Regions from separate parts of the Homo sapiens genome. Here regions 1, 3, 4 and 5 are each linked to region 2. Evidence: promoter capture Hi-C in 16 types of primary human blood cells and fetal thymus (Javierre and others, 2016). All regions are on one chromosome and are shown on one strand. Each heading gives the region's core, a stretch centred on a gene start or on the middle of the fragment in contact. The rest is flanking DNA. Distances are from core to core; before and after follow the strand shown. Region 1 overlaps KRT222 (keratin 222). Region 2 holds the start of RARA (retinoic acid receptor alpha). Region 3 has its middle 26 kb from the start of CCR7. Region 4 overlaps SMARCE1 (SWI/SNF related BAF chromatin remodeling complex subunit E1). Region 5 overlaps PSMD3 (proteasome 26S subunit, non-ATPase 3).

The links. Contacts are between HindIII fragments. The CHiCAGO score rates a contact against its expected background, and 5 or more counts as called.
Region 1: a fragment that was not itself captured here is called in contact with the fragment with the promoter of RARA in region 2 in 1 of 17 cell types (total CD8 T cells); the score reaches 5.3 in total CD8 T cells.
Region 3: a contact is called between a fragment that was not itself captured here and the fragment with the promoter of RARA in region 2, in 3 of 17 cell types (total CD8 T cells, activated CD4 T cells and naive CD8 T cells). The highest score is 6.3, in total CD8 T cells.
Region 4: a contact is called between a fragment that was not itself captured here and the fragment with the promoter of RARA in region 2, in 2 of 17 cell types (activated CD4 T cells and total CD8 T cells). The highest score is 6.1, in activated CD4 T cells.
Region 5: a fragment that was not itself captured here is called in contact with the fragment with the promoter of RARA in region 2 in 1 of 17 cell types (monocytes); the score reaches 5.2 in monocytes.

What each region holds. Positions count from the first base shown.
Region 1 is chr17:40,651,823-40,656,513 of GRCh38, forward strand. KRT222 (keratin 222) reads right to left here. Exons shown (of 6, transcript NM_152349.3): 6 at 2,843-4,691. The coding sequence ends at 4,580. Among named protein-coding and RNA genes, the nearest start is that of SMARCE1, 6.4 kb to the left of the region's middle. The HindIII fragment of the contact is 2,860 bases long and covers 1-2,707 here.
Region 2 is chr17:40,306,733-40,311,220 of GRCh38, forward strand. RARA (retinoic acid receptor alpha) reads left to right here and starts at 2,448. Exons shown (of 9, transcript NM_000964.4): 1 at 2,448-2,554. RefSeq lists enhancers at 1,875-2,760, 2,140-2,309, 2,320-2,449, 2,761-3,644. The HindIII fragment of the contact is 5,393 bases long and covers 1-3,248 here.
Region 3 is chr17:40,589,055-40,593,429 of GRCh38, forward strand. No RefSeq gene overlaps it. Among named protein-coding and RNA genes, the nearest start is that of CCR7, 26 kb to the left of the region's middle. RefSeq lists an enhancer at 1-767. The HindIII fragment of the contact is 1,338 bases long and covers 757-2,094 here.
Region 4 is chr17:40,629,217-40,633,992 of GRCh38, forward strand. It overlaps SMARCE1 (SWI/SNF related BAF chromatin remodeling complex subunit E1), which reads right to left. Exons shown (of 11, transcript NM_003079.5): 8 at 2,979-3,151; 9 at 2,376-2,477; 10 at 1,498-1,708. Among named protein-coding and RNA genes, the nearest start is that of SMARCE1, 16 kb to the right of the region's middle. The HindIII fragment of the contact is 6,923 bases long and covers 1-4,776 here.
Region 5 is chr17:39,983,579-39,988,612 of GRCh38, forward strand. PSMD3 (proteasome 26S subunit, non-ATPase 3) reads left to right here. Exons shown (of 12, transcript NM_002809.4): 2 at 716-906; 3 at 2,997-3,134. It overlaps LOC124904000 (a long non-coding RNA gene), which reads right to left. Exons shown (of 3, transcript XR_007065751.1): 2 at 5,016-5,034; 3 at 3,120-3,204. Among named protein-coding and RNA genes, the nearest start is that of PSMD3, 5.3 kb to the left of the region's middle. The HindIII fragment of the contact is 2,333 bases long and covers 1,238-3,570 here.

The sequences.
Region 1 (4,691 bases), core at 28-2,527, 340 kb after region 2:
AGCTTTCCAGGACAGAGTGATCCACACTGTTTTACAGAATTTAAAAAGCACGGTTTGCTTTGAGAACCCTCTATGTTGCCCTCAAAATAACCTGGAGGATTTGGGACATGAGTGTTGCCCCATGGTGTGGAAAAGGATGAACGTTGAAAACAGGGTAGAGCTGGAGAATCTGGGTTGTGGGGTCTATTATCCACTGATAATATTGGGAGTCTAGGGCACAGTAGCCAAACGAGATTGTTGCAGGCCGTTATCTGGGCTGCCTCCTGTTTTTGTAATAAACCCTTATTTGGACACAAGCACCTTCATTTATTTACGTATTGTCTTTGGTTGCTTGTGGTTACAAGGGAAGGGTTGTGTAGTTGTTACAGGGATCCTATGGCCTGAAAAGCCTAAAATATTTGCTCTCTGGGCTTCGATGGAAAAGGTTGCCAAGCCTGGTCTAGAGTCTAAGCATGTGAGGGAAACTTGGAAAGCCTTGTACTGATTTTCACATATACCTTATTTTAGAGCCTTTATTTGTCATATGCCCACAAATATTGGCAATCTGTGTGTACATGCCGGCCATAACTTGTAAACATAGAACCAAATTCTGCCCTGTGGACAAACTTTCCTTTGATTTCATGTGTTGATAATTTGAGTAACGTGTATGCATATTGTTTAACTAAAATTTAATTTTGGCTCATGTATCATAATACATTTCCAATGGAAACTTTCAAATTAATGTAAGCATTTTTTGACTTCAGAGATTTTTTATTTTTGAGACAGGGTCTCACTCTGTTGCCTAAAGCTGGAGTGCAGTGGTGCAATCTAGGCTCACTGCAGTCTTGACCTCCTGGGTTCAGGCAATTCTCCCACCTCAGCTTCCTGAGTAGCTCAGACTACAGGTGCACACTACCACACTGGGTTAAGTTTTTGATTTTTTTTTTTTTTGGTAAAGACGAGGGCTCACTGTGTTGCCCAGGCTGGTCTCAAACTCCTGGGCTCAAGCGATCCTCCTGCCTCAGCCTCCCTAAGTGTTGAGATTACAGGTGTGAGCCACCATGCCCGGCCAACAGATTTTTAAAAAATTCTAAAAACGTAAGAAAACAAATTGAAGGACAAACTGAACTTTGCCAATACAAAGATCTCTAGCAAATGAATAAGAAATATGCTTATGTGCAGTATTAGTTGTATATTTCTGCATAACAAATTATCCCAAAATTTAGTGGCTCAAAATAATAATCACTTATTATCTTTAGAGAACTATTTTTTTTTTTTTTTGAGACACAGGGTCTCACTCTGTCACCCAGGCTGGAGTTCGGTGGCATGATCTTGGCTCACTGTATCTTCCACCTCCTGGGCTCAAACAATTCTTCCACTTCAGCATCCTGAATAGTTGGGACTACTGGTGTGTCACCATATTCGGTTAATTTAAAATTTTTTAATAGAGACGAGGCCTCACTGTATTGCCCAGGCTGGGCTTGAACTCCTGAGCTCTAGCAATCCTTCTGCCTAGGCCTCTCAAAGTGTTGGGATTATAGGTGTGAGCCACTGTGCCTGGCATAGAGAACATTTTTATACTTTAGACACTGTGCTTGGCATAGAGAACATTTTTTGTACTTTAAAAGCTATCATGACAGAACAGTTCAAATTGGGTGACTCACTGGGAAAGAATAACTGTTCTGGAAGCAATTGAAAAATTAAAAATAGTATCTTTACCTGTTGTGTTTTGAACTATTAATCATTGTCCGCTGTAATTTCCCCCACACATTCTTTAAAGACAATTTTCTTCCAAATAGTACTGTATATCTGAGCAGTGCTTTAACAAATATTTTTGCTTGTATATTATTTCAAACAACTGTAAGGTAGGTAGAGTAGGAATTATTATCCAGCTTTACCTTTTCCTTTGTTTTCAAGTGTAAAACTTGAGGCCTAGGAACTTAAAGTGGCCCCTCCTGGTTACATGGTTAGTGACAGAGCCAGGGTTAGGATCCTACAATTGTTAGTAACTGGAATTACTCTTTATTTTTGTATTTTTTTATGGAAGCATGCATTTGAAACATTTCAGAGAGATTAAAGAATATTAATTTCTACTCATGTGTAAAGCAAGGATAATATTATTCATTTTGTAGGATTGTTGTAAGGAAGGATTAGGGATTATTAGGGATAAACACAGTGCCTAGAGCTGAGTAAGTGCTTTGCAAATGGTGCTGCCATTATTAAACTTTTTCCAGAACTATGGGATTATGTGATTATTTTGATTTTTAAAAAACTAGAATAAAATATTGATATACCATTCTTAACTCTTTTGTAAAACAAGTTAAAAACCATTATCTATCTACTGTGATTGCAGTTTTCTTTATTCCCCAAATGAACTAACCATACTGGAGTAATTAGTTCTTTGTTTCACTTAACCATGCAGAGATATTTTTGAACTAAAAGGACTGCGTTCAAACTCACATACAATGCAGCTTTAGCATTCATATTTCAATTTTTTCAATTTTTAATTTTTATTTATTTTTACTTTTTAGAGAGATGGGGTCTTGCTATATTGCCCAGGCTGGCCTTGAACTCCTGGGCTCAAGCAGTCCTCCCACGTTGGCCTCCCAAAGTGCTGGGATTACAGGCATGAGCCACCGTGCCTGGCCATGTTTCATTTTTTTAATTGTAGTGGAATCATTACCTTGGTAAATTCATATCCCAATTTAAAATGCCCCAAAGCAAATAAAGCTTCATTATAAATTCAAATACTGTATTTTAAAATCTACATGTTATACACCCAATAGATGCATACTGGAATTGCTACAACAAGCAGTTACATTCATGACGACCAGTACTAAGTTTTTTTTAACACTGCAATAGATTATGCTAGATATATTGCTTTATTATGATCACTGTTGCTTAGTACAGTAACTTTAGTACAATAGCTTATATGATTGCATTTTTAAAGCTTTAATAAAGTTAGTAGCATTTAGCAATATCAAATGAAACATTTTTTATGTATAGGATGTATTTTAGGTCAGATGCTTATGCAAGAATAAGCACTTAACATGCTGTTATATCCTTGACAAAACAAAATCATCCCTTTTCACTAAATAGAATAAACCAGACTAAAAGGAATCTGAAGTAATTGAAAGAAAATTAAAAATTTTATATCCCTGTATTATGTTAAAGATTATTTAACATAATATTTTCCTGGTTAAAACATACATTTTTCTGGTTGAAATATATATATACATATATATAAATTATATATATGTATATATATAATAAGTATATATGGAGAGAGAGATAGAGGAGAAGAGAGAGGAGAGAGAGAGAGAAATATTTTAAAGGCTGTACTAAAATGCTAACGTAGCTATAGCCCTTAGATGATACTTTAGCTGGGAAAAAGTATGGTGAGTTGTACTCAGCTACTTTTTCTGCTTAGAAAAGAATTAAGAACTTATAAATTTCTAATGTCTTAAAACAGGTATTTATTAAGATCTTAAATATACCTGTATTAAACAAATTAGGTTATTTTAAAAACTTTGCAACAATACCTCACTTATTCACAAATATATTTTCTACCCATATTTATTACAATTTGAACGATTTAAAAACAAATCCTCTAAATACTCTTAGCTTAGATAACAATACCGTTATCTTAGTTCACATAAATGATTGCAAGAAATATTTATAATACTTCATATAGTATCTTATCTACGGCTTATAGCAAACAATCTAATCACATTTAGCTTTACAGTTGGAAAAACTGGGATGGTGGGTAACTGTTCTGATAACTATAGTAACTACCTTTTCAATTTGCTTTTCATGTTTTGTTTGCGCAGTTGGCCTTCTGATTTTTTTTCTTTTTTTGGTGGGGGATACAACCTTTAAAGTTCCTTGAGTAAAGTAAATCTTCCGGAAATCAGATACTTATTACAAAAAAAACCTTTTAGATATATGTAGATTAACTTAATTGTACTTATCTCAAATTAGCCCTGGGGTGTGTTCTATAGTTTGCTCAGAATTTCTCATGGAAAATAACTCATTTTTCTCAGTATACAAATGATTTATCTCAAAAAGAAGAATCCTCATTAGGTGAATAGTGAGTCCCCCTTTAAAAACTTGTTTATAATTGCTCTTTTTGAAAAATAGAACAAACATTGTAGGTTTAACCAGTCATGGAATAATGGTGAATAACTCAGTGTGACTCTTAACACAATCCTATTCAAACAATTCTTTTTTCCTTAGCGTATTCAGCCATTGAAAAAAATTACAAAGACTTTACTAAACCAGGTTAATGCTTACAGTCTCTGATGAAGTTTCAAGGGAAAAAGAAGACTATTGGGAGAATATAAAGAAAGAGACTGTACTGGATTTGTGATTTTATTTTTAAGCTACTCCCTCTCATTCATATATATATATATATGTCTATCTCCATAATTAGATTCAGAGAAATGTCCTTTATTGTTTTTTTCTTCTGAAGAGAACCACATATTGATCATAACATTTTCCATACATACGTAATAACTTACATTTTGGGACAGAGGGAGTTGGTATGGCCCACCTTGGTCCATCCTAACATTTTCCAATCAAGTCAAATACTATCTTTGGATTAATTAGCTGTTGATGGAGGTTTGATAGAGGGAATACTGCATGATCTTCTCATGATAAGCCTGACTTCTATATCTGGTAGATTATCCTGCTTAGTCTCTAAACACCCTTCA
Region 2 (4,488 bases), core at 1,198-3,697:
TCCCTCTTTTTAACTTGGGGCAAGTTGTGATCTCAGGTTCTTCCTGAAAAGATAAGGTACTTTCTAAGATACCTTCTCTTAAGCTACAAACAGTGCAGGTCTTCCTCTTAGAAGAGGTGTGTTCCGTAAGGGGAGAAGGTGTGCCCTCTGGCCTCCCCTTGATTTTCAACCCCAGCCCCAAGGCACTGGTAGTGGAAGTTAATTGGGTGCAAGGGGCTTGGGTAAAGGCTGAAGACTGGTGAAAGGAGAGAGCCAGCTTCGTTTTTTAAAAAGCTCTAATTGAGTTCTGAATCAGCCTCACTCCCTTTGATCCCTCCTCTGTTTCCCACACTGCCTGAAAGAGCTAGATCAGCACTTTATAACAAGGGTGCGCCTGCTCCCCGCACCGCCCCCCGCTCCTGACGCTCTCTGCTGCCGCCATCCACTGCTTGTCTCCTTCAGTTAAGATAATGAAGATGCTGAGAGATAAAATGTGTATTTAATAAGGGTGGGGGTAGGGAGGCGGAAAGGGGCAACCAGGGCCTTCCCTAGTTTGGGGCCTCGCCAAGACTTAAGCTGAAAGCAAAGCTAGAGTAAGACTTGGCCCCAGGGTGTGGGGGTTTCTGGGCCTCAATCCAGCTGACTTCACTGCCTGCTGTTTGCCCTAAATTCCCCCACCTCCACCCTCTCACCCCCACACTGCTTTCTTCTTGCTCCCAATGGGAAAAAGGACTCTTGCTTCAACTTTCTTTTCAGCTGGTAACTTGGCCTTTGGTGCGGTGCCCCCCACCCCAGTGTCAGCTGCAAGGTCGGGCTAGGGCAGCCCCCTCTAGCCTAGGCCTGTAGAAGCTGTGGGTTCACAGTGGGGGGTGAAAAAGCTGGAGTTAATGAAGACCAGCTGCTAGTCTGGGTTCTGCCTACAGCTAGCTGGAGGCCAGCCTTTGGTGGTGGTTGATGGGGGGGTGGGGTGACCTCCATCCATGGGCACAAGGATATCCTGTGGCAGCTAGGCTTGTGCTTCTCTCTGAGCTTAGTTTTATCCTTAGTTTATAAGAGAGTATCTGTTTCCTTCCCCTACTCCTCTCCTCCCCAAATAACACTCAGCTCTTATTGAACTTTATAACTGTAGTGGTGGCCCAGCTGAGATCTGAGGATCTCCAAACCCTTTTGTAAACACTCATTAACTGCCTGGGAAGAACGAAGAGCCCTGTTTAACAGCTGGGAGAGAACTGAGGCACATTAGGGTGAAAGGTTTGACCTAAACTCACCCCATGGACTCCACCCTGGGGCCTTCCATCCTTAGTCCAGCTCCTTTACTCAGTTCTTCCTGCAAGACAGAGGTGGAGGCATTGCTGGTGTCTTCTCCCCTTCTAGGGAGAGGCCATGCCCTCTCCCCTCAAGTCTGTCGCTGACTTCCTCTGGCCCTTCCCCTCATGACGTTTTCCCTGCTCTGCTGCTAGAGATATGTGCAACTCTCCTTGCAAAATGTTCTCAATCCACAACTTCAGAATTCTTATCCAGCTTTCTCTTGCCCATCTAGCCCACCAAACCTGAATTCTCCCTTTTGAGCTACTGAGAAGACTGGCTATACTAAACTGAATCAGTGACCTTGAAGTTGATCTGTTGTATTGAGGTCCCTCTGCCCCTATATTTATCCTAAATGGTATCTAGGAAAATATTCTCTCTTTAACTTGTTTATTCTGGTCATAAAGATTCGGGACATTACTGAGGGCTGGGTAGGGGCACTAGTTGACCTCTAGGTTCTACGTCCTGTTCTTCCACTGACAATTACCATTTCCAGTAATAGGTGTAACCCAAAGTTCTTTTTTGTTTTTTTCTCCTTCCCTAACCCCACCTGTTTATACTCTTGCCTATATATGTGTATTTGCAGACCCCACACATTCCCAGATACACATACATTGGTCCTACATGTTTCCCCTGTTTCCAGCTGCCATCTAAGTGAGCCTGCACTTTTTACATGCTGAAAATCTTTTTTCACCCTCTATGGCCTCCTAGGTCCTTGGGAATAATTGGGAGGGATGAAGGGACTCCTGCAGTCCATGAGGAAGAGGACAGAAGTGAGCGCCCAACCAAAATGAATGCTCCCTTTCCAAAATCTCTAGCTGAATGCCTTAGCAGGAGTGGCAGGGAAAGAGATCTTAACCCCACCTCCAGCACCAAAACCTAAATCCATCTGCTCAGGGCAGGCAGGAAGAAATGTCTATTTTCTCCTGTTTCAGGTCATCCTATCCTCGAGTTATCCATATGCTGTGTATTTGAGACAGGGAACTGTTCCTGTCCCCAGCCGATGACCAGACGCCCATCTTTCTTCCAGTGGGTTACTTCTCCCCCATCAGTCCTTCGCTCTGCGCCCGCTGACCCAGTCGGGGCTGGCTGGTGGAAGAGGGCGGGGAGAGCCTTCTAGTTGGCGAGTGGGCTTTAGGACCCAACGGGAACCCGTGCCTCTTGCAGCAGCCTAACCCAGAAGCAGGGGGGAATCCTGAATCGAGCTGAGAGGGCTTCCCCGGTTCTCCTGGGAACCCCATCGGCCCCCTGCCAGCACACACCTGAGCAGGTAGGACCATGCACACCCCTTCCCAATTCTTTGGCCGCCTTTGACCCCGGCCTCTGCTTCTGATCTAGCCATTTCCTTCTCGCCAGTTCTGGCTTTCCCCATCCCTCCTCTCCCGTCGCTCACTGTAGTCCTGGGAGGTGGGAGCCTGGGAACAGTGGGGTGTCTGAAAGCTCAGAGCCCTCTGCACCCTCCAGCACCCTTCCTGCATTTCTCCTGAGGCAGTTCCCGTTCTCTAGATAAGAGTGGGGAGTAGGGGGAAGGTCTGCCCAGGCCCCACGCCCTTGCACCCTCCTTTGCGGTATTGCCTAATACCCCTTCCCCCACCTCACCTAGACTGGAGAATTGGCAAGTGCTGAGGTAACAGAGAGAGGAGAGAGCCAGAGAGGGACCTGAGCTTTCCCAAGGGATTTCTTTCTTGCTTCCTCACCCAAAGAGCTCAGGACTTTGCCCCTACTCCCTACACACCTTGTAGGGGAACTAATGTCCCCTTCCAGGTTCATCTCACACTTGGGTGGCTAAAGGCTTTGCTAGAGGGTAGTGGAGGTTGTGAGCATTTTGGTGAGCTTTTCCTCTAGGAAAGTTCTTTCAGCTTAGAGCCCCCATCCATGTCAACATTTCAACACCTGCTGCAGAAGCCCCCCGACCCCACCTGTGTGTGTGTGTGTGTAGGGACAATGTGGTTGTAAGATCTAGAAGCTTTGGATAGAGGTGGCTGCATGCATTGAAGGGGAGGGATACCAGAGTGTGGCCCAGGCCAGAACAGGCTCAGTCCAGATGGCTAGGGAAGGGGGTGTGGACCAGATTGAGGAGGTCACCCAGCCTTGCCAGCTCCCTGAGCTTCTTGGCTTTCAGAATCTCAGGCTCCTGGTGTTTCTCTAGAGCTACAAGGTCCCCAAGCTTCTGCCCCGCTACAGGCTCTCTGGGAGAGGGCTAGATGGCACCTACTGTTTACAGTGGCTTATTTTTCTCTCCTGTGGTGGGCAGACAGGCCCTGCTCTCTGAAGATCTAGGGCGTGTCATTCTGGTTTGGTGGGTTTACAGGAAGGGTGTACACCTTGTCTGACTTACCATGTGTGAGTGTGTGTCTTGCTTCTGGGGGTAGTAGACTGGGGAGGGGGGTGATAGAAGAGACTGGTCACACTGAGGGAACTCCTCTAGCAATCAATGTATGATAGGAATGGGTGGCATGTCCCCATCTGGTAGCTCTGTCTAGGTGTGGGGTGTGCTCTGCATTCTTCCATGGCTCCCCGGGTCCCCTAAAGGTTGGTTTTAGAGGACAGGGTGGATAATGAATTGGCTTCAGACTTCGTTCTGGTCTTGATCCAACAAGGAAAGTAGAGATTCTGACTGTGAGCAGTGAACTAGGAATCAGAGGCCTGAACTGGAGACTTAGACTGGTTACTTAACTATATGTGTTTATATAGGTCTTCCCCTTTGCTAAGCCTTAGTTTCTCCATTTGTAAAAATGGCTATCAGTAGCAAGCAGGGACATTGCCACTAAAACCACAGAGACAATGTATCGTAAAGCTCACTGCAAACGGTAGTAATGGCTGGGGGAATCTAGGATGGAATCCTCTTCCTAAATCTAGGTCAATCTCTCCGCCTTTAGTTTTCTTCCCCCATCCTTTGCCCATCTGGGGGATGGAGGAACTAGGCAGGGCTATTGCCCCGGTTACTGCAGAATTCCCCTAATGCAGGTTGTAGCTGTTACCAGAGCACCTGTGGTCACAGAGTACAGATCTCTCCACCAGGCATTTCTTCCTCTGGGGCCCCATACTTGCTCCCCTGAGCCATGTCTCCACCTTCCTTCTGCCATCCCTGCTTGGCGTCCTTGTCTCTCTCTCCCCTGCCCAGTGGCCTCCTTGTCTGGCTCACTGGGCAGGAGCCCTAATCGGATTCGACAGCTGAGATATGTGTGGCGGCTAAGAGCAGGC
Region 3 (4,375 bases), core at 176-2,675, 280 kb after region 2:
ATTGGGTGGGGGAGAGGCTAGGCATGTCTGAGCTCAGACTCTCCTTGGGTGGGTCTTGCTGTGGCTGCTGTAGGGGATGAGGGTGACATTCCCAGGTCACTAGAGTTATGTACCTAGGAGGATTATGGCTGCCTCTGCTGAGTCATGCAGGTTGTCAGGGAAGTGGGGGAAAGCCAGCAGTCACAGGCCTCACCCAGGTCCCATGCAAACCCAAGTGCTCACTCCCACCGTGCCTCCCCCTACAGCACCGAGTCTGTTTCCAGGTGAAGGGCGAGATGGGCTTGAAAACTTGCCTGAGGCTTTTTACCTCCCAGAGTATTTGGGTTGTCTCCTGGGTCTTGCAGGAGCAGTCCGCTTCCTTCAGAGGGTTTGTGGGTCCTCTCAGGGTGGCTGGTTTGTTCTTGCAGTTGATCTGGAGCTAAAATTCACAATGCAAACCTCCACATGGCTGCTCTGTCCAGAGCTGCAATCTAGTCCTGCCTCCCATCCGCCATGATTCCCACTTGGATTGAAATTGTCCATTTTAAACATGATTAGAAAGCCCAGGTATCTTGATGCTCATTGATCCTGAGACCATCTGTTGCAGTGAAAACGTGTGTGGGGTTCCAGTCTTGGCTCTGCCAGCCAAATTTCCATGAGGCCCTTTTCTCCTGGTTCCTTATCTGGGGATTGAACCAGATGATCTTGTCTGTCCTCTCTGGTCTCACATTTGGGGATTCCATTGATCATCTCCTAGTGGGACTGTGGCCTCAGAGAAGCTTAGGTTATGCACATTTAGGAAATCCCAGTAGAGCTTTGGTCAGAAAGAAAAGATGGGTGAAAGGTGGAGTCCTGAAACCCTCCTGTTCCTCCCCATACAACTGTTTAAGGAGACCATATCTATTTCATCCTCCTCTTGTGCTTTTAATGGCATTCAAAGCCCTTCTCTATCTGGCCCAGTTGACATCACTGACCTCAATCTCTCTACTCCCCCACTGTAGCTACTTTGTGCTCCAGCCATTCCGAGTGACCTGTGGGTTCCCTAAAAGCATTGTGCACTTTCATTTTTCTGGGATTTTCCACATGCTCTTCTGTCAGGCTAAGGTGGCTCCAGCTCCTTCTCTCCCGTGTCACACTCTAACTCATTATTCAAGACCCAGCTCAAATACTCTCACCTCCTGAAGAATTCTTGAAGTCCCTGAACCCACAAATGCTGTTCACACTGCTAGGATAGCACCTCTTAGTCAAATTTGTATCATGGGCATGCATGCATTTTTCTCCCTCTATCAGCTTACCATTACGTGGCATCTTATTTATTTCTTACATATTTAACACAGTACCTGGCATATTCTTGGTGCTCAGCCAAAGAGTGCTAAGTTAAAATGAAGGATATTTCTGTTGATTTGACCCCAAACAGGCTACACTCAGAGTGCATAAAATAGTGGCCACTCTTTGAGTTGAGTTGGATCTGATAATTAATTGGTTTAGATCCAGTTAGAGGCCTTTTATGTCTGCCTGGGTTAGACAGAAACTGATAGTAAATGGAAATATTGCAAGGGGTGTAAATTTCAGCTTTTGGAAATTTGCAAGGATTTTTATATTCTACCTTCTTTATTTCTTTTTCCCTTGTGTGCTTAGGTAGGGAAAAATCATTGGCTAGGTTGATCAAGGGGATCCTCAAATTTCAGTATCAGTCTTAGCTTTCATGTAATGCTCATGAGGTCCTTGCTGTGGGGAAGTTCTCAGGCTGCGCAAGGCACCACAGCCCAGGATTCAGGGAGCTCCCAGAGTGATAGGCAGGCCACCAATGTCAACGCTCTTACATACTGTTTGAGGATTAACTGGAGCTAATACTTATTCAGCACCTACTGTATACCAGACCCTGAATCACCTCATTTAATCTCACAACAACCCTGCAAGTTAAGCAGCTGTGATGTCCATTCTACAGATAAGAAAATGGAGACTCAGAGAAGTTAAGAACTTCCCCAAAGGACGCTCATAGCTAGTTGCAGCAAACCAGGAATGGAACTCCCCCATCCATCCTCTTTCCCCCATACCACACTAGTTGATAAGCAGGAATGCAACTTCACAACCACTGAAAGCCCTGTTAAATTAAGCTTAGCCTAAATCTGCCTTCTTACATATTCTAAGTCCAGCCTAAAGGTTTCTCCATACATAGTGAACTACAACTTAACTGGATGTGTGAACAGACTGTAACCTACTCCTGTGCAAGTCACTGAGTTTTGGCCAACCAAGGTTGCCAACTGTACAGACTATGTTCAAATAAGGCAATGCTAAGATAAACAATCCTGCTGTTTCTATGCCTCACTTCCATTTTCTGTAGGTCACTTTCCATTTTCTGTCCATAAACCTTCTTCTACCCCATGGCCATGCTAGAGTCTCTCTGAGCCTACTCTGGCTCAAGAGGCTTCCTGATTTGCAAACCGTTCATTGCTCAAACTGTTAAATTTAATTTGTCTAAGGTTTTTCTTTCTTCTTCTTCTTTTTTTTTTAGATGGAGTTTCACTCTTGTTGCCCAGGCTGGAGTGCAATGGCACGACCTCAGCTCACTGCAGCCTCCGCCTCCCGGGTTCAAGTGATTCTCCTGCCTCAGCATCCCAAGTAGCTGGGATTACAGGCATATGCCACCATGCCTGGCTAATTTTTGTATTTTTAGTAGAGATGGGCTTTCACCATGTTGGCCAGGCTGGTCTCGAACTCCTGACCTCAGGTGATCCACCCGCCTCGGCCCCCCAAAGTGTTGGGATTACACTTTGAGCCACTGCGCCCGGCCAGTTTCTCTTTTAACAGATGCTGTCAGAAGTAGGATCCAAGGCCGGGCGCGGTGGCTCATGCCTGTAATCCCAGCACTTTGGGAGGCCGAAGTGGGTGGATCACTTGAGGTCAGGAGTTCGAGACCAGCTTGGCCGACATAGTGAAATCCCGTCTCTACTAAAAACACAAAAATTAGCCAGGCATGGTGGCATATGCCTGTAATCCCAGCTACTTGGGAGGTTGAGGCAGGATAATCACTTGAACCTGAGAGGCGGAGGTTGCAGTGAGCTGAGATCACGCCATTGCACTCCAGCCTGGGTGGGTAACAAGAGTGAAACCCCGTCTCAAAAAAAAAAAAAAAAGATTGAGTCTCCTCTCTTATCAAAGAGTAAAGGTTTTTGCTTTTAAAAATCTCTTATCACTTTGGCTAAATGAATGATTTTTTTTTATGGTGACCTGTGATCCTATTTTGGTCAATTGTCTGAATCTTTTGACATACTTGACAGGCTTCCTGAAAATCAAATTTCAACTTCAAAATTAAGTGGTTTGTTTTTTTTTGTTGTTTACCTGTACATTTGGAATGCTACAGAGGGCTCCTGCAGCATCCAAAAGAGAGATAAGTAAGATTACGTGATATATTAAATTACAGGAAGCACTGTCAAATAAGAAATAATGTTTAATCTTCTTCAAGTTGTATTTTTATAAATATTTTATTAATATATGTTCCAAAATTGTATGGGATTCCTAAAATTCTGATATGTCTGGATATATGCTATCAATTATAACTATGGTTATGTTACATAATTTTAGGCCACAAAAATAACCAAATGTCCTTGTCAATTGTATCTTTATGACCATTTTAAATCATTTCCACAGTTAATTCCTGCATTTAGATGCAGTTTCTGAAAACTCTTCACAAGCAAGCAAAATCCTAGAGTAATGTGTCTTCAAAGAGGTTCATACAATGATGGAAAGGACTCTGACAAGCACTCTTGAATACAGGTTTAGGATCCTATCATTTGGACTGGCTAAGAATTCCCAGAACTCTAATAAAAGGACTGACTGATTTATAAAACTGCTAACCCAAGTAGGGCAAGAATTAATTGACAACCAAAAAAATACTTTGACAGATTTTCATGCTAAAATCAGCTAGCACTAAAATTATTTAGATATATAATTTAAATGAACTCCCTGGTCCAAGTCAAATTACCCATGAAAACCATCTAATAAACAGTGCTATGCACCTAAATTGGAGAAACAAAATTGGTATTTAAGATGTAAGTCCAGTATAAGCATAGACTCATGGAGAACCTGGAAGGCTTCCTGGTCCTTCCTGAGTCCTTCAAGTTCCCATTATTAGAAGCTCTGAATTTCAAGACTTATCATAAAACAGATAAAATGATCCAAATTAAAAATATATATATATTGGTGTGGTGACTGTTATGAATTGCTAAAATAGTTTATGATCAATATTTGATTTGTCAAACCCATAATTCTTGGAAGACAATAAAAACTTCAGGTACATTTCTGTTATCTGATGGGCCATTTAAACACTTATAGGGGGATTTGGCTGGGCTCAGTGGCTCATGCTTGTAATCCCAGCACTTTGGGAGCCCAAGGA
Region 4 (4,776 bases), core at 802-3,301, 320 kb after region 2:
GCAGATCAAATACTTCCGATGAAAATTTAGCTTCTGAATTGAGATGTGTATAAAGACTGTTTAAAAAAAGGAAAGCTGATTTTAAAAATGTTCCTTCTGTGTTGAAATAATTTTATTTAGGATATGTTGAATTAAATAAAACATATTGTTAAAACACTTGTTTTGCTTAACTTTTAAAAATATGTCACTAGTAGAAAATATAAAATTTCACGTGACTTGCATTTTATTTCTGTTGGACAGTGAATGAGAGTTAGTCTGTAGTGCTATGGATTAAACGAGGAGAAAGCAGTTGTAGAAATAATATAAGGTTGGTCTTTTAGACACTTTGTTTAAAGTCATGCTGGGCTGTTTCCTGTAAGAAATTAAAAGCATGAGGTTTTAGCTCTAATAGTCTCAAACGATTTTCTTCAGGTTTTTTCCTTGAACTAGGACAGAATCTGAGTAAAGACCTGCAAACCTTAAGCATAAGACATGCCCCATTCATAGATGCCAAAACAGAGGCAAAGGACTGAGTGTTTGTCTAGTTGCAAAATTAGCAAAAATCAGTTATTTTAATTTTCAAGCTCGTTTTAACCACAAAAATGTGCTCATGCTCCAAATTCATTACAATAAAAAACACATTCATACAAAACAGAAAGAGACTCAGATACTGAAACTTAAAATATGACCATTTCAAATGTTAATCTGCTGGATTAAATTTTGCAGAAATACCTGGTAAAGATATCTATATTCCATTACATGTTTTCCAGATGGTTGTCATCTGAGTACCAAGTATGACTACTGTCCCTCCCACTTCTTGCAACGATGCTCCAGGAAGCCTTTGGTTTTGTTTTCCATAACTACTTTTAGCTTAGTCCTGTTTACACAGTGTACTAGGCAGTGTTAAAACAGTGCCATGAGGTAAGGTGATCTCAAAATTACAAGTGACGATCAATGTAATCAGTACTTTATGTAAGTTTTATTTATACAAGTTATTATTATTATTTTTTACCTTGAGGGATGCTTTTAATCAGGAAAATCAGTATACCTAGAAGTAAGGGTTTTTCTAGGACAGAGCTGGCAATTTTTTTCTGTAAAGAGCCAGATAGAAAATATTTTAGACTTCGCAGGCCAGGCAGTTGTTGTTGCAACTACTCAACTATACTGTTTTATCCCCAAAGCAGCCACAGACAGTATGTAAACAAACAAGTGTGGCTGTGTTCCAGTTTTATTTACAAAAACAAGTGGTGGGCAGGATTGGCTTACAGGTATTACTTTGCAGAATGCTGTCCTAGGACACCAAAGACAATTAATCTTAACGGTAATAACCACATCTTGATAAATAATGTAAGCATTTAAAGGTTAAAATACTGAATGTCAATATCATGTCAAATTTAGTACTGGGAATCACCCTCAGTGGCAGGTACCAGAATACTTGCACTTAGAAAGAAAAACCTAAATTAAAGACAGCCGTACAAAGTCTTGGCACTGCCTCTGCGTTTGTTGCTAGTGGGTTACCTGTCTCCATCGGAATGTTCTCGTCGTCTTTCTTCTCCTCGCCTTTGTTAGCTGCTTGTTCTTCCTCAGGAACGATGCTGCTCTGACTGCGCTCAGCTTGCTCTGCGGCCTCCTTCTCCCTTTCCTCCTGCCTTTTGCGGGCCTGTTCCTCTGCCTGTGCAATCTCAGCTGCAATTTTCTCCATATCCACTTCTACTTTCAGACCGCACAACTAATCAGAAAAAAACAGAACTCCGTAATGTTTTTTCCTTATAATTTTTGAGCCAGATATATTCTTTCAAAAGTTGGTTTTCTTGCCTATAAACTATATATATATATCTATACACCTGTATGTGTGTGTGTGTGTGCCAAAAAAATGTGGTTCTAGGTCTTCTCTGAAACTCTTGGGTCTACAAGAAAAAACAGCAGCTCTAGCAGTTGTATAATATAGGATATTCCAGAGCAGCTGGTGAGGCAAAATAGTGAAAGTTCTGGGGTATACATAAGGCTTCCGTTTTACATTTTGGGCTACCAACTAGATTTCCTTGTCTGAATGCAAAGTGCAAATTATAAATTACATTTAATGACGACATTTGATGAATAAATCACAATAAAATGAAAGTAATTAATGACTGTATGGGAGTTTAACATATCAGAGGGCTCTAGCATTTACAGGCCTAGAAGATATGTGTATACTCTATGATATTTCAAATTTATTGCAATTTTGCCAGAGAATGGGAACAATCTTATAAAAAAAGGATCCTACAGGTTTATAATAAAGTTAGCCCTGTTTCAAAGTGAACAACATTCAATAAAAACACTATTTTGGAAAAAAGAATGAGGAAAAATAAAGTAACAGGTATAGTGATAAAAGTATAGTTAACATATTAAACAGATACCCTTTTAAGTTCATTGTTAAATGAATCTGTGCTTTCCAGGAATTTCCTCTTCTTCTCCTGGTGTCGTTCCTCTATTTGAAGAAGTTCAGCTTCTAGTTTTCGCTGCAAGACAGGATCAGGCTTCATAATTGTGTCTCATTTTTTAATGGTCCATACTTTCAAACAGTGTACCAAATAATGTTTTGAACTTTAGATCATTTATCACATGAGTCTAGCTAAGATTTAAAAAATACAAAATGCAGCACAAAGAAATGATTATGATCAATAGGTAAATGTTAAAGAATACTGTTTCAGGCCTGAGCAATTCCTTGGGAAAAAATATTTAGCATAGCAGTAAAGATTGATAGGATGCCTCAAAATTCTTAAGTTCACACGTATTTCTTAACGAATATACTTTCCATTACAAGGTTCTATATTATAGTTTTTAATGACAAACTTATTAAACATCTGGGAAAGGTCCACTTCCTTAAACCTCTTCTCCAAATCAGGAACAGGTTAGATTGACATATTTAACAGGTAGATTTAGGCATGGTGTAGGAATCATATCACCTGGGATTTGTGGTATAGGCACATCTTATTGAAATGAATGTTTTATGACTTTACCTGATGAACCATTAAGGACTGGACCTGCCGTTTGAGGACCTGCATTCTAGCTGTTGTGACAACTGACCGAACGTCTGGCACCACACTCTCACTAAGAATTTCACTGATGAGGCGGTGGTTTCTCTGGAAACGGGCGGTGGCTGTATGCTTCATTGAAAAGCCATCATCATAATCTGGAGTGAACAAATTGTTCTGGAAATCAGGTCACCAGTAACCATAAAAAGGAGTGTAACAATGTTAACACTTAATTACCAACGAACTATGGCCCTCACTGGCCTAACAAGTGGACCTGCCCAGCGTCATGGGAGCACTGGGGCAGTTACTTGATAAAAACCATACAGAGGACGTAATGTGTTCATTGGCCAAGGTAGTAATTTATCTCACAGTCTTTAAGTGATAATGTTGTGTCTGAGAAGGATTTGGCTAAAACATAAACGAGATACAACATGTCTCTTCTGGCTTCGGAATCAATGTGAAGGCTGTATGTGATGGCAGTAATTGAAATTCTGCCCAATGTTTCACTCTCTTGGTAGTAACTTAAGGCATTTAACAACTAATGAACAACATATGAACTGGGCAGTGACTTTGTCACTTGTAGCACTTTAAAAATGAATGAAAATGCCCATTTGTAAAATTATGACAGCAGAGAATACATCACCTCTAACAATATTCAGTTTCCCAGGCCCTCAAGTAATTTTATAGAAGAAAAATAAATGTCTGATTCCAAATTTAATTTTTGTCAGTTTACACTTAGCCAGCTGTTGTCAGTGTGTAATGGTATGACCCAAGTTCATACAGTATGGGTCTGGTTTATATGCTTCTGTTTCGTTTTGAGACAGAATCTCCCTCTTGTTACCCAGGCTGGAGTACAGTGGCCCAGTCTCAGCTCACTGCAACCTCCACCTGCCAGGTTCAAGTGATTCTTGTGCCTCGGCCTCCCAAGTAGCAGGAATTACAGGCGCATGACACCACGCCCGGCCAATTTTTGTATTTTTAGTAGAGATGGGATTTCACCATGTTGGCTAGGGTGGTCTTGAACTCCTGACCCCATGTGATCTGCCCATCCTGGCCTCCCAAAGCGCTGGGATTACAGGTGTGAGCCACTGCACACACACTACAGGCTTATTTTTAATAGCTATCTAGTGTTTCCTTAATCTCAGTCTTTGCTCTATCACCTTCATAGTTTTTCATATATCTACTAACAGCCTGTACTATCGTTTACTTAATATTTTTCTTTAAACTAACTCACTTAAAAAAAAAAAGAGCTTTCTCTTTAGTAATACATATTAAAACAAACGCTCCTCTCTGAACCACTTAATCACCTCAGTGACCCACCAGACAGGGAGGAACCACACTTAAGAAAACCTTGTTACAGGGGAAACCCTGTTACAGAGGCCTATGTTGCGCTGCTATGTCAGTTTAGCACCTCCCTTATTGTCTGGCACTTAAGTAGTTCCTAAAATTCTCATTATTATAAATACTACAGCTAAAAACTGTTGTTTTTGTAAAAAGTTAAAAAAATTACTTTTGTTTCCTTTTGAGTAATTTCTTTAGGAAATAAACTTCTGAAATTAAAACTACTGGGTAAGATACAGTTTTTTTAAAACTCTGTAACCTTTCTACTTTTTAAGAGTTTTTCACCTTTAGGGTTATATATGGTACATCTGTGCTACATCTGTCTAAGTTATCTGTTTTTGTTGTTAGCTTTTGTTTTCTTCTTTCATTTATATGGCCCCAGTGTTGACCACAGATGGGGACATAAGGTCTAAGCAATTTGGGCTTGTTCTTCTTTGCATGT
Region 5 (5,034 bases), core at 1,154-3,653, 320 kb before region 2:
TTTTGTATACACAGTTATCTAAAAGGGTTTTTTTAAATGAAGTCAAGCCCATTAATCTTTTGTGCGTATGTGATTTCTCCCATTGTTCACATTTAGAAAGTCTTTTCCATTAAGATCTGATAAATCTGGACTCCAGGTTTCTGTAGTTAATTGGTTTTTCTTTTCTTCCTCTGTCATCCTCTACCCCATCCTGCACCCCCACTGTATGTTTTTCTTGCCACTTGGTTATGTCTTAAAATCAGTGTGTGGAATCTGTAAATATTATGGACCCCATTAGGGCAGAAAAGGTGAGTGGTCGCATTTTGCCCCTCTGTGAGAGGCTCCTTAGAACTCCTTGCCTGGCCGGCACGGTGGCTCACGCCTATAATCCCAGCACTTTGGGAGGCCAAGGCGGGCAGATCACGAGGTCAGGAGATCGAGACCATCCTGGCTAACACGGTGAAACCCCGTCTCTACTAAAAATACAAAAAATTTAGCCAGGCGTGGTGGCGGGTGCCTGTAGTCCCAGCTACTCGGGAGGCTGAGGCAGGAGAATGGTGTGAACCCAGCAGGCAGAGCTTGCAGTGAGCCGAGATCACACCACTGCACTCCGGCCTGGGCGACAGAGTGAGACTCCGTCTCAAAAAAAAAAAAAAAAAAAAAAAGAACTCCTTGCCTGGAGTGGTGGGGGACTAGGAGTGAAAGTGACATCATTTTCTTCTCTGCTCTTCTTCAGACATCAAGGAGCACGTGAAACAGCTAGAGAAAGCGGTTTCAGGCAAGGAGCCGAGATTCGTGCTGCGGGCCCTGCGGATGCTGCCTTCCACATCACGCCGCCTCAACCACTATGTTCTGTATAAGGCTGTGCAGGGCTTCTTCACTTCAAATAATGCCACTCGAGACTTTTTGCTCCCCTTCCTGGAAGAGGTGAGTGAGTCAGGCCAACTTAAAGGGTGCAGGCCTGGCCTCAGATCCCCAGGAACAGCATTGTTTTCCATCCTAAAGTCCCATCTTATTACCTGTGGTAGCATGAGGAGAGAAGCCAAAGCAGTCCATTTGAATACTCATCTGCACAGTGACAAGGGAACCGTCCACTGCCCTGTAGTGTCATTCTTCAAAGTCAGGGGATCAGGACCCTCCCAGCCAAACTCATTTCCCACTACCCTGCAACCTGTACCCCCTACTCCAGTTGAGGTTGCGTTGGGTGACCTCTCTGTTGTTCTAGGAGAGAGAAGGTGCTGCTGCCTCTTTCTTCTGAAGCTTCACCATGGAGGAGGTAGAGAACAGTGGTTAGGAGGAGCACAGCTGTCAGGGCCAGGCACAGTGGCTCACACCTGTCTTCCCAGCACTTTGGGAGGCTGAGGCGGGCACAGTGGCTAACATCGTCATCCCAGCACTTTGGGAGGCTGAGGCGAGCAGATCGTTTGAGTCCAGCCTGGATTCAAACAATCTGCCCGCCCAGGAGTTTGAGACCAGCCTGGGCGACATGGTGAGACCCTGTCTCTGCAAAAAGTACAAAAATTAGCCAGGCATGGTGGCACCTGCCTGTAGTCCCAGCTACTCGGGAGGCTGAGGCAGGAGGATCACTTGAATGCAGGAGGTGGAGATTGCAGTGAACCAAGATTGCACCACTGCACTCTAGCCTAGGTGACAGGGTGACCCCCCTACCTCAAAACAAAACAAAAAAAACCCCACAGATTTTAGAGGTAGAGTTGAATTTGAATCCAAACCCTGACAGTTAGTACCTGTGGGACTTGGGCGAGTGACTTCATTTTGCTGTGCCTCGTTTTCTTCATTTGTTAAACGTGATGAACGGATTGGGAAGCGGGCAGTATAAAGCTCCTAGAGCAGTGCCTGGTACGTAGTGAATGCAGACGAAGTCAGTTTGGTGGTGGTGGTGGCGCCTCCGTGCCAGGAGAGACCTCTCCTTATCCTCTGTAGCTGTAAACTCTCCCTCATGATTCATGGCATGGGCCAGGTCTCAGCCTTCTCCAATTCCACTGACCTTCCAGCACCTGCATTTCCTTAAAATCCTGTATACTCAGTCAGCTCCGTGGATGGGGAAACTCAGAACATCCCTGGAGGCAGGGCAGTGAAGAGTTTCTTGTCTGGGAAAGGGGAAAAGCGTACTGTTCCCCCAACTCCACCTTGAATATTTTCTGACCTTCACATCGCTAAACTCACGAAACGTGATTATTTTGGGGGTGACTGTAACACATTATTTTTTCCAGTGTCAGTGACAACATAGGAAAATATGTTTTGTTTATATGTTGACTTTCCCTAAATTTTCTTTGTTCCCACAAGAAACCATTTTTTGGTCTCATTATTCTGATTTCATCTCTAGAATTATTTCGTTCAGCCCTGTCCAGTAGTATTTGCAGTGGATCCAGGTGTGGTGGTTTAATGTCTCCACTTAGGTTGTAGCCTCTTTGAAGGTTCCTTACATCGTCCTTTGTCTCCATTATGTTGTGTAAAGAAATTTTTTGTTCTCCTGTAACACTTTATTGTGTTTATTAATATTATATTGCCAGCCTCCTTGACTTGTTTTGTTTTTTTGAGATGGGGTCTTGCTCTGTCACCCAGGCTGAAGCACGGTGGCACACTTATGGCCCAGTGCAGGCTCAGACTCCTGGTATCAAGCAGTCCTCCTGCCTCAGCCTCCTGAGTAGCTGGGAATACAGGTGCATGCCACCATGCCTGGCTAGTTCTTTTTTATTTTTTGAGAGATGGGGTCTCACTGTGTTGCCCAGACTGGTCTCAAATTCCTGGCCTCAAGCATTCTCCTGCCTCAGCCTTCCAGGTAGCTGGCACTACCGGCGTGAGCCACCACACCCAGCTCCTCCTTGATTTCTTTGGGAAAGACTGTAATCTTTATTTTTTTATCCCTAGCACCTAACAAAATCTTGGCACATGGTAGACACTCAATAAATATGTTGAAATACATAGTGGATGCTCAATAAATTCTTGGTTACTTGATCAGACTGAGCTTTTCCATGGTAACTTCTGTCCTCTCCTAGCCCATGGACACAGAGGCTGATTTACAGTTCCGTCCCCGCACGGGAAAAGCTGCGTCGACACCCCTCCTGCCTGAAGTGGAAGCCTATCTCCAACTCCTCGTGGTCATCTTCATGATGAACAGCAAGCGCTACAAAGAGGTATCCAGGATGCAGTGAGAGCGATTCATAAGCCCCAAGTGATGCAAGGGGTTTGGCGGGGAGATGGTCCCTGGTGAAGAAATGGAAATAATCATTGATTCTTAAGAACTGTCCCCCACACTCTTTCCCCATAGAGGTATGCGTTTGATCCCACATCCCAGGAGAACCCACTCTTGCTCTGGGCACTGTGGGACAGGGCTTGCAGTGGTCATGCTGTACCGGTCTGTGGGGGATACCAGCGTAGTACATTCTTGGGGAAAAGTAGGGGCATTTGGAGACAGAAAGACCTGGGTTCCAATCCCAGCCATACCCTAGGCAAATTAATTTCTCCCAGCTATATGTAAGATGGGGATAATAGTGCCTACCTTACAAGATGGTTAGCGTTACATAAAATAATTTGTTTAGAAATACTTAGCGCAATGATCTGCATATAGTAAGCTTTCGTGATATTTTCATAAATGGTAGCTGTTATTATGGACTAATAGCTCCATTTGCAAACTGCACTTCTACCACTCCCCCAGCTAGGGCCAGCTTCTTTGTTCATCATAGCCACTGTCACAGGAGCACACTCAGGAAGTAAGTCGCACTCCTTAATTCCCTGGTTTGTTTCCTTTCCTTACCACACTATTTTTGGTTGTTGTTTGGTTGGGGGTTTTTTTGAGATTGGGTCTTGCTTTGTTGCCCATGCTGGAGGGCAGTGGTGTGATCACAGTTCACTTGACCTCCCCGGCTTAAGTGATCCTTCCACCTCAGCTTCTTGGGTAGCTGGGACTACAGGCATGTGCCACCACGCCCAGCTAATCTTTGCATTTTTTTTGTAGAGACAGGATTTCACCTTCTTGCCAAGCTGGTCTCCAACCCCTGGGCTCAAGTGATTTCCTGGGCTCAGCCTCCCAAAGTGTTAGGGTTACAGGCATGAGCCACTGCGCCTGGCCCACTGTTTTGTTTTTACTGGAGATGGGGTCTTGCTATGTTAACCAAGCTGGTCTTGAACTCCTGGGCTCAGGTAGTCCTCCCGCCTCAGCCTCTCATGTAGCTGGGATTACAGGCACGTGCCACTGTACTTGGCTGTTTGTTTTTGAGATATAATTCACCCCTTTAAAGTGTACTACAGGCCAGGTATGGTGGCTCACGCCTGTAATCCCAGCACCTTGGGAGGCCAAGGCAGGCAGATCATGAGGTCAGACAATCAAGACCATCCTGGCCAACATGGTGAAACCCTGTCTTTACTAAAAATACAAAAAATTAGCCGGGCGTGGTGGTGTGTGCCTGTAGACCCAGCTACTCAGAAGGCTGAGGCAGGGGAATTGCTTGAACCAGGGAGGCGGAGGTTGTGGTGAGCCGGGATTGTGCCACTGCACTCCAGCCTGGTGACAGAGCGAGACTCCGTCAAACAAATAAATAAAGTATACTACAATTGAGTGGGTTTTAGTATATTCCCAAAGTTGTATATCCACCCCTAATTCCAGAACATTTTCATCACCCCACAAAGAAACACCATACGTATTAGTAGTCACTTTTCATTTTCCCCTTACCCAGCCCCTGGCCGCTACTAATCTGCCCTGTCTCTATTGAGGATTTACTTACTCTGGACATTTCATGTAAATGGAATTACACACCGTGTGCCCTTGGTTTCTGGCTTTTTTCACTTAGCATCATGTTTTCAAGGTTGACCCATGTTGTAGTGTGTGTCAGTACTTCCTTCCTTTTTAAGGCTGAGTAATATTCCCTCGTGTGGATGTGCCACATTTTGTTTATCTGTTCATCAGCTGACGGGCACCTGGGTTGTTTCTACTCTTTGGTTATGAATAATGCTTCTGTGAACATTCGTGTACATGCTTTTATGTGAGCCTAAGTTTCCAGTTCTCTTGGCTTGCATACCTAGGATAGGAATTGCTGG